Regions from separate parts of the Homo sapiens genome. Here region 2 is linked to region 1. The links are contacts of gene promoters, found by promoter capture Hi-C in human tissues and cell types (Jung and others, 2019). All regions are on one chromosome and are shown on one strand. Each heading gives the region's core, a stretch centred on a gene start or on the middle of the fragment in contact. The rest is flanking DNA. Distances are from core to core; before and after follow the strand shown. Region 1 holds the start of RIMS3 (regulating synaptic membrane exocytosis 3). Region 2 has its middle 36 kb from the start of CTPS1.

Region 1 (6,607 bases), core at 675-3,174:
CCCTGGGAGAAGGGACCGTGGTCCCTGCTGGGTCCTCAGCACCTGGCTCCTGCACGCCCGCCCAGCAAGTACTTGGCACAGGGGTTGCTCATGAGTTCAGCAGTTAGCTGCTGAGCCCTCCTGAGTGCCAGGCACTGTGCTGCGCAGCTCAAATCCACCATTTCACTCACTCCTTCCTGCTACCCACATAGCAGCTGGGTTTGTTTTACTGAAAGAGTCTCAGAGAGGGGAAGTGATTTCCTCAATATCACACAGCCAGAAAGTGGCAGAGCTTGGGTTTGAAGCCAAGTTTAACCAACTCTGGGCTTCATACCCTGCAAAGGGTCGGATAAGTGTAGAACCCCAGGGCTGGAAGTCCCTAAGCAAGGCAGTCAGGAACAGAAGGCAGGGAAGGGGTCTGTGGGCCCTAAACAAACAACAAAGGGCATGGTGCTTGGTTTAAGCACAGGGCACATGGGTCACCTCCCCAGCACATCCCTGCCAACCCACCCACCCCGCCTCCCAACCAAGAATGCCCCATTAGGCTACCCACATGCCCCCAGGGACAGTTGGCAGCTGCCTGATTACAGACTAATTGGTGGCTGGCAGCAACTATGGTGGGGTGGGGGAGATGGCTCATTAACCCCTTGTTGACCAGGCCCAATCCTCCTCCCATGACTTCAGGCCCCAAACCCAAGGAACCCAGACTTAAGAAGTCATCATGGATAGAGGACAGGACCAAAGGAGCAGCAGCCTTCTTCCCTACATCCTGATAACACCCCTGGGGCTAGGGTTGGACACATATTCACCCAGGTGTCCAAGCCCTGAAGGACCACATTGAAACAGGCCCCAAGTGGCAGTGCCAGCCAATGCCCCCTGTTCTCCAGCCTTGATATGCCATTGCCCACCCCATTCCAGGATCCTTCCTGAGCCTTCAGGACCAGGACACTGAAGAAACCCACTCCTCAGGGCTGAGTTGTCCAGAGGTGATGGGGACATGGAGTCCAGGTACCCAGGCGGCCAGTCAGGGAAGAGCTCCTCCCTATGAATGAGAGCATGCCCAAGTTGCCCATCAAGGGTCCTGCCAAGCCTCCCTGAACCCTGGGCTCTGCACCATGCTGCTGACCAACTGCATTCCCAGCTTCCCAAAGCCCCCTCTTCCCACCCCAGGGCTGGAGTAAGCAGCACTCCTTTTCTTTTATGGGGTGGAGGGGGTCCTCTGGACACCACAACGGTGTCACGTTGAGGAAAAAGTGGCTGCTTCTCAACCAGGGCACAGGCAGAAGGGAGAAAAGCAGGCTGCCTTCCAGCTCCCTTTCCAGGAGGGATTTTAAGCACTTTCCAAAAATGCCATGCCAGGCAATGCTGTTGAAGACCAGGGCCCCAGGAGCTCTGAGCATCAGCAAAGAACTCAAGACTCTGGGCCCCCTTCCCCATTTTCCAGGCTTCCCCAAACACCCCACGTCCCTCTCTCATCCCTTAGTCCCCTCCCCAGAGCCCTCTCACACCCTGTGTTCATCCCCCCACCCCCGCCCCTGCACACTCACATACCTACGTTGCGCTTCATGGCCAGAGCCCCCCTCCCCCCGTGGTCCTCCAGACCTCTGCAGCCCCCTCCCCACGTCCACTCCCAGGCGAGCAAGGCCTGCTGACTTACCCGGAGGTGGGGCCGGGGTCCAGACAGGGAGGGGGCCTCCACAGGCCGAGGCGGCTCCGCAAGGCGGGGCAGGTGCTGCCCCGGGACCCCGCCCCGCGAACCCGGCAGTAGGCGCGGCCCGGCCCCAGGCTGGCGCGGACTCCGAGTGGATAGGCACGCGGGGCGGGGAGGGGCGGCGAGGGAGGCTCACGGGGGCATCGCCCGCCACCACGGGGGCAGCTCCGCTCCGCCCGCCTGCGCTGCCGGCTCCGCAGCAGCCACCGTTTTCAGTCGCCGCCGGGTGCAAAGCCCAAGCTTGGGCCGGCGGGAGGCGAAGGGGAGGCGGGGCCTGCCGGGGGCGGGGCCGCGTGGATGGGCGGGGCCAGTGGGCCGGACCTTGGTGGTGGGCGGGGCCTAGGGGAATCCGGGGAGTTTGGCTTGCCGGGTTGTGGTTGGGGGACCTACATTAATGAGGCTTCCAAGAAGCGGGGTCTGGGGAAGCCTCATTCCTCTCCGTGTCCCTAGGACTCTCTTGCCTCCTGCCCGGCCTCCCCTCTCCACCACCTACCCTATCTGTTCTTTCTCATCCTTCCTTTTCTTTGGGGCACCTCCCAGGACCTCACAGGCACCACGGCGCCCCCTGCCCTGCCCTGCCCTGAAGCAGTTCCAGGAACGTCAGATGGTAAGAGAAGAAACGACTTACAAACGTCAAGTCCATTTTACAGATGGAAAATCTGAAGCTCAGATAGGAGAAAAGACTTGCCCAAGTGCCTGGTATGAAGAGAAAGACTTTATAATGTCCCTTTCAGACAGAAGGAAGTAGAGTGGCCGGCCCTGAAGCCCAAGTTAACCTGCTTCCCCTGCGCTCTCTACTTCTAGAGCAATGGTTTTAAACTTGGGGCGATTTTGCCCCCCAGGGAACATTCGACCATGTCTGGAGACATTTTTGGTTTTCCCAACGAGGAGGTTGCTACTGGCGTCTCATGAGAAGAGACCAGGGATGCTGCTACACGCCTTCAATGCACAGGACAGCCCCTGCGCCAGAGAATTGTCAGGCCCGAAATGTCAGCAGGTTTCTGAGGTTGAGAAACTCTGTTCTAGGGCCTGGCATCTGCCTATATAAACTTCCAAATAGACTCCTGGAGTCCTGGGTTCTTCTGCAGCCCGGGAGGATACTGTATGAAGTCTTTCCTAGGGTCGTGCCTGCCCCAACTTGTATATTTAACCTTGCTTAGGACTGGTCAGTTCCACTCTTGGGCTCCAGTGTTTTGAATTCCACCCACTGACAGAGAGGACAGAATAATTAATATTTGCTGGAGGCATGTAAAACCAGTAGTCTCCCTGCTGAGGGCATGAATTAAAATGTAAATGGGAGCTGGGTGCGGTGGCTCATGCCTGTACCAGTGTTTTGGGAGGCCAAGGTGGGTGGATTGCTTGAGGCTGGGAGTTCGAGATCAACCTGGCCAACATGGTGAAACCCCATCTCTACTAAAAATACAAAAATTAGCCAGGTGTGGTGGCACACAACTATAGTCCCAGCTACTCGGGAGGCTGAGGTACGAGAATCACTTGAACCCAGGAGGCGGAGGTTGCAGTGAGCCGAGGTCGCACCACTGCACTCCAGCCTGAGTGACAGGGGGAACTCTGTCTCAAAAAAAAGTAAATGGGGAGTGGGAAGGTGGGGAGAAAAAGGAAAATTATTGGGATTAAAGGATCCTCCTGGGGATTGCTAGGAGGCATAGTCATCCTACGCCTTCCCTTCTCACCTGGTCTGTGAGAAGCATAAACTGAGGCCCTACAATGTGAAAAGCCTCAAAGTGCGTTCCATAGCTGGTCAGAGGTGGAGCTGGGGCTCCTGATTATATTTACATATTAATTAAAGCTTTGTTATCAGCTATTCTACCTCAGGCCTAGGCCTGGACTAGGGCCTGGGTGGTAGAATGGGTTACTCTGGAGCAGCAAGGGGGACTAGATTAGGGGAGGTGGGATGGAGGCCAGGGCAGGACCTGGAACGAGGGTGGAGGTGAGGGGTGGGAGCACAGAGAGGAATCAGGCTTCCTGTGTGCTCCTCCCTGGCCCCTTTCACAGAGACAGGTAAACCAGGGGTTCCCTTTGCACATCTGATGAAAACTTAGCACTATCTCTCTGGAGATGTGCAATGTATATTTTGCATATAATTTCAGTATCTTCAAAGTTCTATATTGGTTACCAGAAGGACTGGATGGGAGGTGGGTGGAGAGGGGGTTGATTCTTAAGTGTATATAGAAGAATAAACATACAGGAATAAAAAGTCCAGGAAGAAAAGTAATGAAAAGGGATTTGTCTTACCCGATACTAAAACATACTATAAAGTCAATGTATTTAAAGCAGTATGGTATTGAAGCAGGACTAGACCGATCTGTGGAACAAAATGGAGTATGGAAATGGATCCAGCCCCACAAGGGAATTCAATGTATGATAAAGATAGCACTTCAGGCCCGGCACAGTGGCTCATGCCAGTAATCCCAAAACTTTGGGAGGTTGAGGCGGGCAGATCACTTGAGACTAGCCTGGGCAACATGGCAAAACTTTGTCTCTATAAAAAAATACAAAACTTGTGGCCGGGGGCGGTGGCTCACACCTGTAATCCCAGCACTTTGGGAGGCCGAGGCAGGCGGATCACAAGATCAAGAGATTGAGACCATCCTAGCCAACATGGTGAAACCCTGTCTCAACTAAAAATACAAAAATTAGCTGGGTGTGGTGGCATGCACCTGTAGTCCCAACTACTTGGGAGACTGAGGCAGGAGAATCGCTTGAACCCAGGAGGCGGAGGTTGCAGTGAACTGAGATCGCACCACTGCACTCCAGCCTGGTAACAGAGCAAGACTCTGTCTCAAAAAAAAAAAAAAAAAAAAAATTTATCTGGGCATGATTGCACACACCTGTAGTCCCAGCTACCAGGGAGGCTGAAGTGGGAGGATTACCTGAGCCTGGGAGGTCAAGGCTGCAGTGAGCTGTGATCACGCCACTGCACTCCAGCCTGGGCAACAGAGCAAGACCTTGTCTCTAAATGAATGAATGAATAAAAGACAGCACTTCAGACAAATGGGGGGCGGAGTTGGTAGGGGGTTGTGGGCGGGGGGGGGGGGGTTGGTGGCGGAGATCAAATGGGTGGAATAACCAGCAAGTCTTTTGGGGAAATTACAAAAAGCTGTGCCCTTATTCGACACTGAAATAAATTCCAGGTGGACCACATATTTAACACCATAATGTATCAGAAAAAAGACATGAGTGAATATTTTAATAATCTTGGAGATGGAAAAGACTTTCTAAGCATGATGAAACCTAGAAGCCATAAGAGAAAACATGGAAATGTTTGACTACAAGGCTTCTATACAGAAGAAATGGCCATAAGTCAGTTTGAAAGACAAATGACAAAACGGAGGGGATATATCCTGGTTGCCCCCTACCCTGTCCCCTCCTGCCCGCCAGCCCCTCCAAGCCGAGACGGGGACGAGCAGGAGGGATGGCTGGGGCTGTGAGAGTCGAGACCGAGCACCTGGCAGAGGCTTCTCCTGCGGCGCTCTGGCCAGCGCCCACATGTTTAGGGGCCGGGAAGTCCCGGAAACCCCAGGCGGGCCATCTGGGTCCTCAGCAGGTGCCTTGGCACAGCCGAGCCGAAGTCCTCCTGGAGGCTGCTCACCACTTCCCTCGCGTGGCCATCCTAAGAACTGCAATCCTCTGTTCCTGCTCAGCCCCTTCTGAGCATCAAGGCGAGAATTTAAAAATAAATAAATAACAGCTAATTTTTTGAGGGAACTAACCATGTTCCAGGCATTGTGTTAAACACTTAACCTAGCATATTTCATTTTCCCCTCAAAACAGCTCTTCGAGGTAGGTGCACTGTATTCTTATCTCCATTTGATGGACGGAAACTGAGGCTTGAAAAAAGTGACTTGTCTTTCTAAGTGGTGGCACCAGAATTTACTGCCACATTCCTGGCCTCAGCTCTTAATGTAATAAAGCCAAACCTTTGGGAAAATTCAATAAAACAAACTTTTTTGAGGTTTACCTTTATCCAGGCCTTTTGCAGGTGCTGGGGATTCTGAATTGAGGAAAATAGTCATCAGAGGTGACAGCAGAGGAACACTCCTGATACAGCGAATCCTGATGGCTACAGAGGACTCATTCACCCCAGGAAGCGGTGGGGGCAGTGGGGAGGGATCCCAGAGGAGACGTCCTCCAAGCTGCATCTTGTGGAGAGAGAGTAGTGGGGTGGCACTTACTAAGGTGGGCTGGATGACAAGTGGGGCTTGGGGGAGGAGCAGTGATCTATATGCTCTGAGTTTGGGGGTAGACCACAGATGGGGCTGAATAAAGTACACCAGGACCAAGCTAAGGAGTTTGGGTGCAAAGATTTTTTTGAAAGCTTTTCCATGTTTCAGTTGCTTGGGTCTAGGGACAGCCTGCTCTGCCAACCCAACCTGCCTCCTTTGCAGATGCTTTCTCACCCCAGTTCAAGGTGCTCTCAGAAACTTGGGAGTCCCTCCTGATTCCTTCCTCTTCCTCACTTCTATCCACTTAATTATCAGAGCCATCCAGTTTGCTTCCTAAATACTTCCTAGGTTCACCCACTTCTCTCCATCCCTCTTGCCTCTCCTCTAGTCCAGCCTGCCTTCCTGTCACTCCTGAATTCAGCTGCTGTTGGTGACTTGGTCTCACCACCTTCAAACTTTTACACAAGAGAAATCCTTCTAAAACAAATCTGACCACATCCCCTCTCTTACTGAAAATGCTTTTCATTGATTCATTCAACAAATATCAAGTATTTATTATATGTTGAATATTCAAGATATAATTATGAGCAAAACATGGAATTTAAAGCCTATGGGGGTGACAGACATGAACCAAATCACCCCCTAAATAATTGTATAATAAAAACTGGGTTAGATGCTATGGGAGGGACTGGCCTAGACAGGGAGATCTTTGAATGCTCCCCAAGGCATCCCA
Region 2 (6,779 bases), core at 2,618-5,117, 280 kb after region 1:
ATTCACATTTAATATCTTTGCTAATTGTTTTTCAGGGGTATCCCAGGCCCATGAAATTAGATGATTATAATCCTTGGTTTATGGTACATTCTTTTTTTTTTTTTTTTTTTTTAGACAGAGTATTTTACTGTCACCCAGGCTGGAGTGCAGTGGTGCGATCTCAGCTCACTGCAACCTCCGCCTCCTGGGTTCAAGTGATTCTCCTGCCTCAGCCTCCCGAGTAGCTGGGATTACAGGTGCACGCCACCACGTCCAGCTAATTTTTTTTTGTATTTTTAGTAGTGATGGGGTTTCACTACGTTGGCCAGGCTGTTCTCAAGCTCCTGACCTCAAGTGATCTGCCTGCCTCGGCCTCCCAAAGTGCTGGGATTACAGGCATGGGCCACCACGCCTGGGCAATGGCACATTCATAACAGGTCCAGGGCCAGCATGGTGGCTTATGCCTGTAACCCTAACACTTTAGGAGGCTGAGGCAGGAGGGTGGCTTGAGCCCAGGAGTTCAAGACCAGCCTGGGCAACATAGGGAGACCCTGTCTCTACAAAAAGTAATAACAAATTAGTTGGGTGTGTTGGCATGAGCCTATATTCCTAGCTACGTGTGAGGCTGAGATGGAAGGATTGTTTGAACCCGGAAGTTCGAGGCTGAAGTGAGCTGTGATTGTGCCAATGTGCTCCAGCCTGGGTGACAAAGTAAGACCCTGTCTCTAAAAACACTTTGTCTCTGAAAAAAAAAGAAAAAAGAAAAGAAAAAAAAGAGGCCAGGCCTGGTAGTGGCTCATGCCTATAATTCCAGCACTTTAGGACACCAAGGTAGGAGGATTGCTTGAGGATTTTGAGACCAGCCCAGGCAACACAGTGAGATCCTCACCTCTACAAAAAATAGAAAAAATTAGCTGGGCGTAGTGTCACAGGCCTGTAGTCCTAGATACCTGGGAGGCCGAGGTGGGAGGATAGCTTGAGCCTGAGAGGTTAAGGCTGCAGTGAGCCATGATTGTGCCACTGCTCTCCAGCCTGGGGCACAGAGCAAGACCACTTCTCAAAAACAAACAAATAATAATAATGTAACATCTCACCCCAAACCAAAGCTAGTACCTTGACTTTTTAGGTACAAATAACCATACGTGCATCCCCTGCAGCATGGATCCGGGACATTTTGCTTTTGTGGGCCTCTTCCTAAACACACATATACACGTGCACAAAAATATATATGTATACCAGACGTGTACAAAAATATATATGTATACGTATATTTTATGATTGCATTGGTAATAAAGAATATGTTGTTATATAGTAAAACATTTTCTTTGAACTAAAAAGTTCATTAGTTTCTTCTGATTAAAAAGATAATAATGGCCGGGTGCGGTGGCTCACTTCTGTAATCCCAGCACTTTGGGAGGCTGAGGCTGGTGGATCATGAGCTCAGGAGTTCGAGACCAGCCTGGGCAACATAGCGAGGCCCCCGTCTTTACAAAAAATACAAAAATTAAAAATTGGTCAGGCATGGTGGCGCGTGCCTGTAGTTCCAGCTACTCGGGAGGCTGAGGCACGAGAATCGCTTGAACCAGGAGGCAGAGGTTGCAGTGAGCTAAGATAGCACAACGGCACTCCAGCCTGGGCGACAGAGTGAGACTCTGTCTCAAAAAACAAAACAAAACAAAACAAAAAACACATTTTCATGGACCTCTAAAAGTATTTTGGGCCCTAGGCATGGTGCCTATGGTGCTTCATGGATGAGTCAGCCTTCCTTCCCTGGCACCAGGTCCCCATCAGCCTGGGTCCTGTCTGCTCACCATTCTCGTTTTCCTTGTTATAATTTCTTGCAATAATATGTATTCCTTAAGAGTACATTTTTGGTTATAGCACAACTTATATGTTTCAAATGGACCAAAATTAGTATCATTTACAGTATCTTAAGATAAATTTCCTTTGAGTGAGCTTCTTTTCCTGTACTTTGAGGTCTACGAGATGTATCTAGAAAATTTACTACTGTGGAAAATGAAGTCGTTTAAAGCAAACTCCAGGGGGAAGGAAAAGGGCCTGTGGTTTTCCTTTTGGATAATTGCTGTAATGCTGTCCTTCAGGCAGCTGAGGGAGTTTCATGTTTTCACTAGACATCTTTAGGCGCTGAAGCTCTTGCAGGACAACTTTGATGTTATATGGATTCTGCCATTTTGCTAGCACTAATAAGGTTCTTGGTCCACCACTCCATTAGAACTACTAACTCCATTCTTATTAATTTTTGTTACAAATCTTACAAACGGAGGTGCTGTGGAGTATTTAGGTCCATATTCTATTTTTGTAGCTGCATATTCTGTTTTCATAAATTGGCTACCATCTTGTGTTGCTGTTGCTCAAAGGCTCAAAAGAGTACTTTTAATGTTAGTCATTTTTAACTTCGCGAAATAATATAATCTTTTTTTTTTCCCTGATACGGAGTCTTGCTCTGTCACCCAGGCTGGAGTGCAGTGGCACAGTCTCGGCTCACTGCAACCTCTGCCTCCCGGGTGCAAGCGATTCTCCTGCCTCAGCCTCCCGAGTAGCTGGGATTACAGGTGCACACCACCACGCCCAGCTAATTTTTTGTATTTTTAGTAGAGACTACGGGGTTTCACTATGTTGTCCAGGCTGATCTCGAGCTCCTGACCTTGTGATCCGCCCACCTCAGCCTCCCAAAGTGCTGGGATTACAGGCGTGAGCCACTGTGCCCAGCCTATAATCTTTTGAGATCTACTTTTCTCACTTACTATTAGATTGGCAAGATTAATTCATATCTGAGGCATGTCCCTGCAGTTCATTCATCTTGATTGCTGTCTATTGTGTACCATACATGAGCATACCAAGGTCTATTCATCACTGTCCTATCCCATTTAGCATAGGGTGTGTTTTCATCCTTTCCTACAGGAAAAAAACAACCCCAGTACTTCAATGGCTTGTTGTAGCAAACATTTATTTCTAGTTCTCATTCTGTGAGGCCAAGAGTCAGCTGCAGCTCTCCTAGGAAAGGGTCTTTTTCCAACGAAGAGGCCTAGCAAGGTGAAGAGGGAATTAATAATTATGAGCAAATGCAACTGATCCCAGATGGTTTCCAGTTTTACTGAATGGACAGTGCAGCTAGGGTAAAACTGCTGGGTTATAAGCTATAAGAATGTTTGGTTTTAGAAGATTATGCCAGACCTTTCCATAATGGTGTCACCAATTTAAATTTCCACCAGCAATATGCAAGAGATCCTGGAGCTCTACATCCTTCCAACACTCCATATTATGAAACTTTAAACTGTTGAAAATTGAAGGGATGTAAAATGGTATTTCACCGAGCCTTGGTTTGTGTTTTCCTGATCACTAACAACGTTCGACATCTCTTTAAACTTACTGGCTATATGTGTTTCTTCTTCTCTTAAATGCCTGCTTGGCCAGCCATGGTGGCTCACGCCTGTAATCCCAGCACTTTGGGAGGCTGAGGGGGGTGGATCACCTGAGGTCGTGAGCTCGAGATCAGCCTGACCAACATGAAGAAACCCCGTCTCTACTAAAAATACAAAAACTTAGCCGGGCGTGGTGGCGCGTGCCTGTAATCCCAGCTACTCGGGAGGCTGAGGCAGGAGAATCACTTGAACCCGGGAGGTGGAGGTTGTGGTGAGCCGAGATTGTGCCATTGCACTCCAGCCTGGGCAACAAGAGCAAAACTCCATCTCAAAACAAACAAACAAACAAACAAAAAACTCCTGCTCATACCTTTTGTGTCCATTTTTCTTTCTTACTGAATTGTAGAAGTTTTTTGTTTTTTTTTTTTAAGGGGCTTGCTCTATCCCCTAGACTAGAGTGCAGTGGTATGATCATGGCTCACTGTAGCCTCGACCTCCCTGGGCTCAGGAGATCCTCCCACCTCAGCCTCCTGAGTAGCTGGGACCACAGGCAGTCCACCTATATTTTCTACTAATAGTTTTAAAGTTTTATTTTTTTAAATTTAAGTCCTTAAAACATCTAGTGCGGATCTTTGTTTATGTTGTGAAGTAATTTTTCCAGCTCTGTTTATTGGCCCATCCTCCCTTTCTTCGCTGTGATATGCCACTCCTGCCGCATATATATACCATATATATGTGGATCTGATTCTGGTCTCTCTACTCCTTCTCAGGGGTCAATGTGTCTGTCCCTATGTGGATACCGTACTGTCTTAATGGCTGTAGCTTCATCGTGGGTCCTGATTCCTGGCAGGGGTGATGAACCCTGCCCCACTCCACCCCCGCTACTCTGCCCAGTAACAGGGAGAAGCACCCTCTGCTGGCTCTGCTCCTTCCAAATAAGTGGCCTCAGGCATACTGTCTATTTCCCTTTTGAATCTTGGTATTCTTGTGCGTAAACCAGGGAGTAATGATTCTACCTCATAAGAATGTTCTGAGCATCCAATAAGACTGTACATAAATAAAGCTTCTGGCACAGCGCCTATTTGTTGGGCCTGAATGTTTGTGAAATGGGGTCCAGAGACGTTCAATGACGTGCTCAAGGTCACAGGACCAGACCCATAATATGCTGTCTTCTCACTGCTGAGCTTCAAAGACCATTTCCAGACAAGTTAGCCTTCTCAAGAGTCTTTCTTCCATTTTCTTCCCTTCCAGGAAAAAACAAAGGTAAGAAAGAAAGAAAGAAAGAAAGAAAGAAAGAAAGAAAGAAAGAAAGAAAGAAAGGAAGGAAGGAAGAAAGCAAGCAAAGCAAAGCAAAGCAAAGCAAAGCAAAGCAAAGCAAAGCAAAGCAAAGCAAAGAAAGAAAAGAATCCATTTCCAAAAGCTCACAGCATACCACAGTTCCCAATGACTGCATCTTTTTTGGCTTTTTCTTATCTAATGGGAACGGAATGAACTGGATCAGGGTTTCTCTAACAATGTTGGAGAGGAAGTCAGGTTTATTTAAAATTTAACTTCTTTTGGCTCTGTTACCACTGGCCTTGGCTGAGCCATGGCTCGAGGGCATCCGAAAGCAATGAGATCCGGGCATGGTTTCCAGGAGAGTCCCTGGGAGCAAGTTCAGTGTCCCTGAACTTGTCATCATGAAAATTGCAGTGGCCTTGAGGGTTAATCACTGAAGTTAGCATGTAAAGCTGGGTCTGCATCTGTGTTGTTCCCTCTGTCTCTCCTGATCCCACACAGCCAAGACACAGAGCAGGTGCGCAGTGTGGAATAAACAAAGGAAAGTGGGCGGAAAGATTTACAGTCACCTTGAGGAGACTGTTTGGCCTCATTGTAGAGACATTAACAGAGCCAAAGAAAGGGTGTGCAGCTTCTCAGGAGATTTGTTGCTATTATAGTGAGAAAGGTTTGGAAAAGATTATGAGCATGTTCAAAGTTACGATAATTAAAGCGTGTTAGCTCAGAAACTGAAGACAAAGAAGTAAAGTGGAATTGAATTCACAAATAGACCTAAACACATAAGAAAATCTGGTGTATGATAAGGGTGGCATTTCACATATGTAAGGGGAAACTACATGTTGATGAGCCATCTGGAAAAAAACCAAACTGAATCTCTAACTTACTGCATGCACTGAAATAAATTCCAGATGGATTAAGTATGCATTGGTAAAAAACAAAACCATAAACATGCTAGAAGAAAATATCAGAGAATGTTTTCCTAATCATGGAGTGGAGAAAATCTTTCTAAAATATGACACAAATCCCAGAAGTTATCAAGGAAAAGATGGACAGATCTTACTACATAAATATTTTTAAACTTCTGTAGGGGGAAAAAACATATGCAAGGCAAATGACAAACACTAAATTATAAAAAATACTGATTTGCTTTCCACATGGCAGATGAGAGCTAATAACCTGATATGCAAAGACCTCCTACAAATCAACTTAAAAAAAAAAAGTACAGGCTGGGTGCAGTTGCTGACGCTTGTAATCCCAGCACTTTGGGAGGCCAAGGTGGGCAGATCACAAGGTCAGGAGTTTGAGACCAGCCTGGCCAACATGGTGAAACCCCATCTCTACTGAAGTTACAAAAAATGAGCCCAGTGTAGTGGCACACACCTGTGACCCCAGCTACTTGGATGGGTGAGGCAGGAGAATCACTTGAACCTGGGAGGTGGAGGTTGCAGTGAGCCGAGATCACGCCATTGTACTATAGCCTGGGCAACAGGGTGAGACTCTGCCTCAAAAAAAAGAAAATTAATTAATTATTTTAAAATATTTAAAAAGTACAAAGGAAGGAAGAAAACCATGAGTAAGAAAAATATAATCAGGCGTGGTGGCTCACACCTGTAATCCCAACACTTACAGAGGCCTAGGCGGGTGGTTCAGTTGAGGTCAGTAGTTTAAGACCAGCCTAGGTAACATGGTAAAACCCTGTCTCTACCAAAAATACAAAAATTAGCCAGGCATGGTGGTGGGTGCCTGTAGTCCCAGCTACTTGGGAGGCTGAGGCAGGGGAATCACTTGACCCTGGGAGGAGGAAGTTGCAGTAAGCCAAGATCACACCACTGCACTCCAGCCTGGACAACAGAGTGAGACTCTGTCTCAAAAAAAGAAAAGAAAAGAAAAATAGACAAACGACATGGGAAAATACACTTTATAGAAGATGACATTCAAATGGCCAATCAACTCAGGAAGAGATGTTTGACTCCACAGAAATCCAAATGAAAACAACAATGGGATAATATATTTCATGTATCAGACTGCAAAAATTAAAAGGCACCCAGTGTTGGGGAGCGTGTCAGTTGGTATCTCATCACTCCTGGGGCAAATGCAAATTGCAATATTATTTTTGGAAAGAAATTCATCTATTTCATC

What was found. The method cuts DNA at HindIII sites, captures the fragments that hold promoters and counts their contacts. A contact is called where the count stands out against the background at its distance.
Region 2: a fragment that was not itself captured here is called in contact with the fragment with the promoter of RIMS3 in region 1 in 1 of the 25 tissues and cell types used here (aorta).

The regions. Positions count from the first base shown.
Region 1 is chr1:40,663,758-40,670,364 of GRCh38, forward strand. RIMS3 (regulating synaptic membrane exocytosis 3) reads right to left here and starts at 1,925. Exons shown (of 8, transcript NM_014747.3): 1 at 1,637-1,925. It overlaps LOC105378675 (a long non-coding RNA gene), which reads left to right. Exons shown (of 2, transcript XR_947238.3): 2 at 2,231-3,919. RefSeq lists enhancers at 1-193, 5,154-5,303, 5,364-5,413 and a silencer at 1,641-2,070. The HindIII fragment of the contact is 12,473 bases long and covers 1-2,713 here.
Region 2 is chr1:40,940,192-40,946,970 of GRCh38, forward strand. It overlaps the pseudogene UBE2V1P8. Among named protein-coding and RNA genes, the nearest start is that of CTPS1, 36 kb to the right of the region's middle. RefSeq lists an enhancer at 4,640-5,139. The HindIII fragment of the contact is 5,918 bases long and covers 909-6,779 here.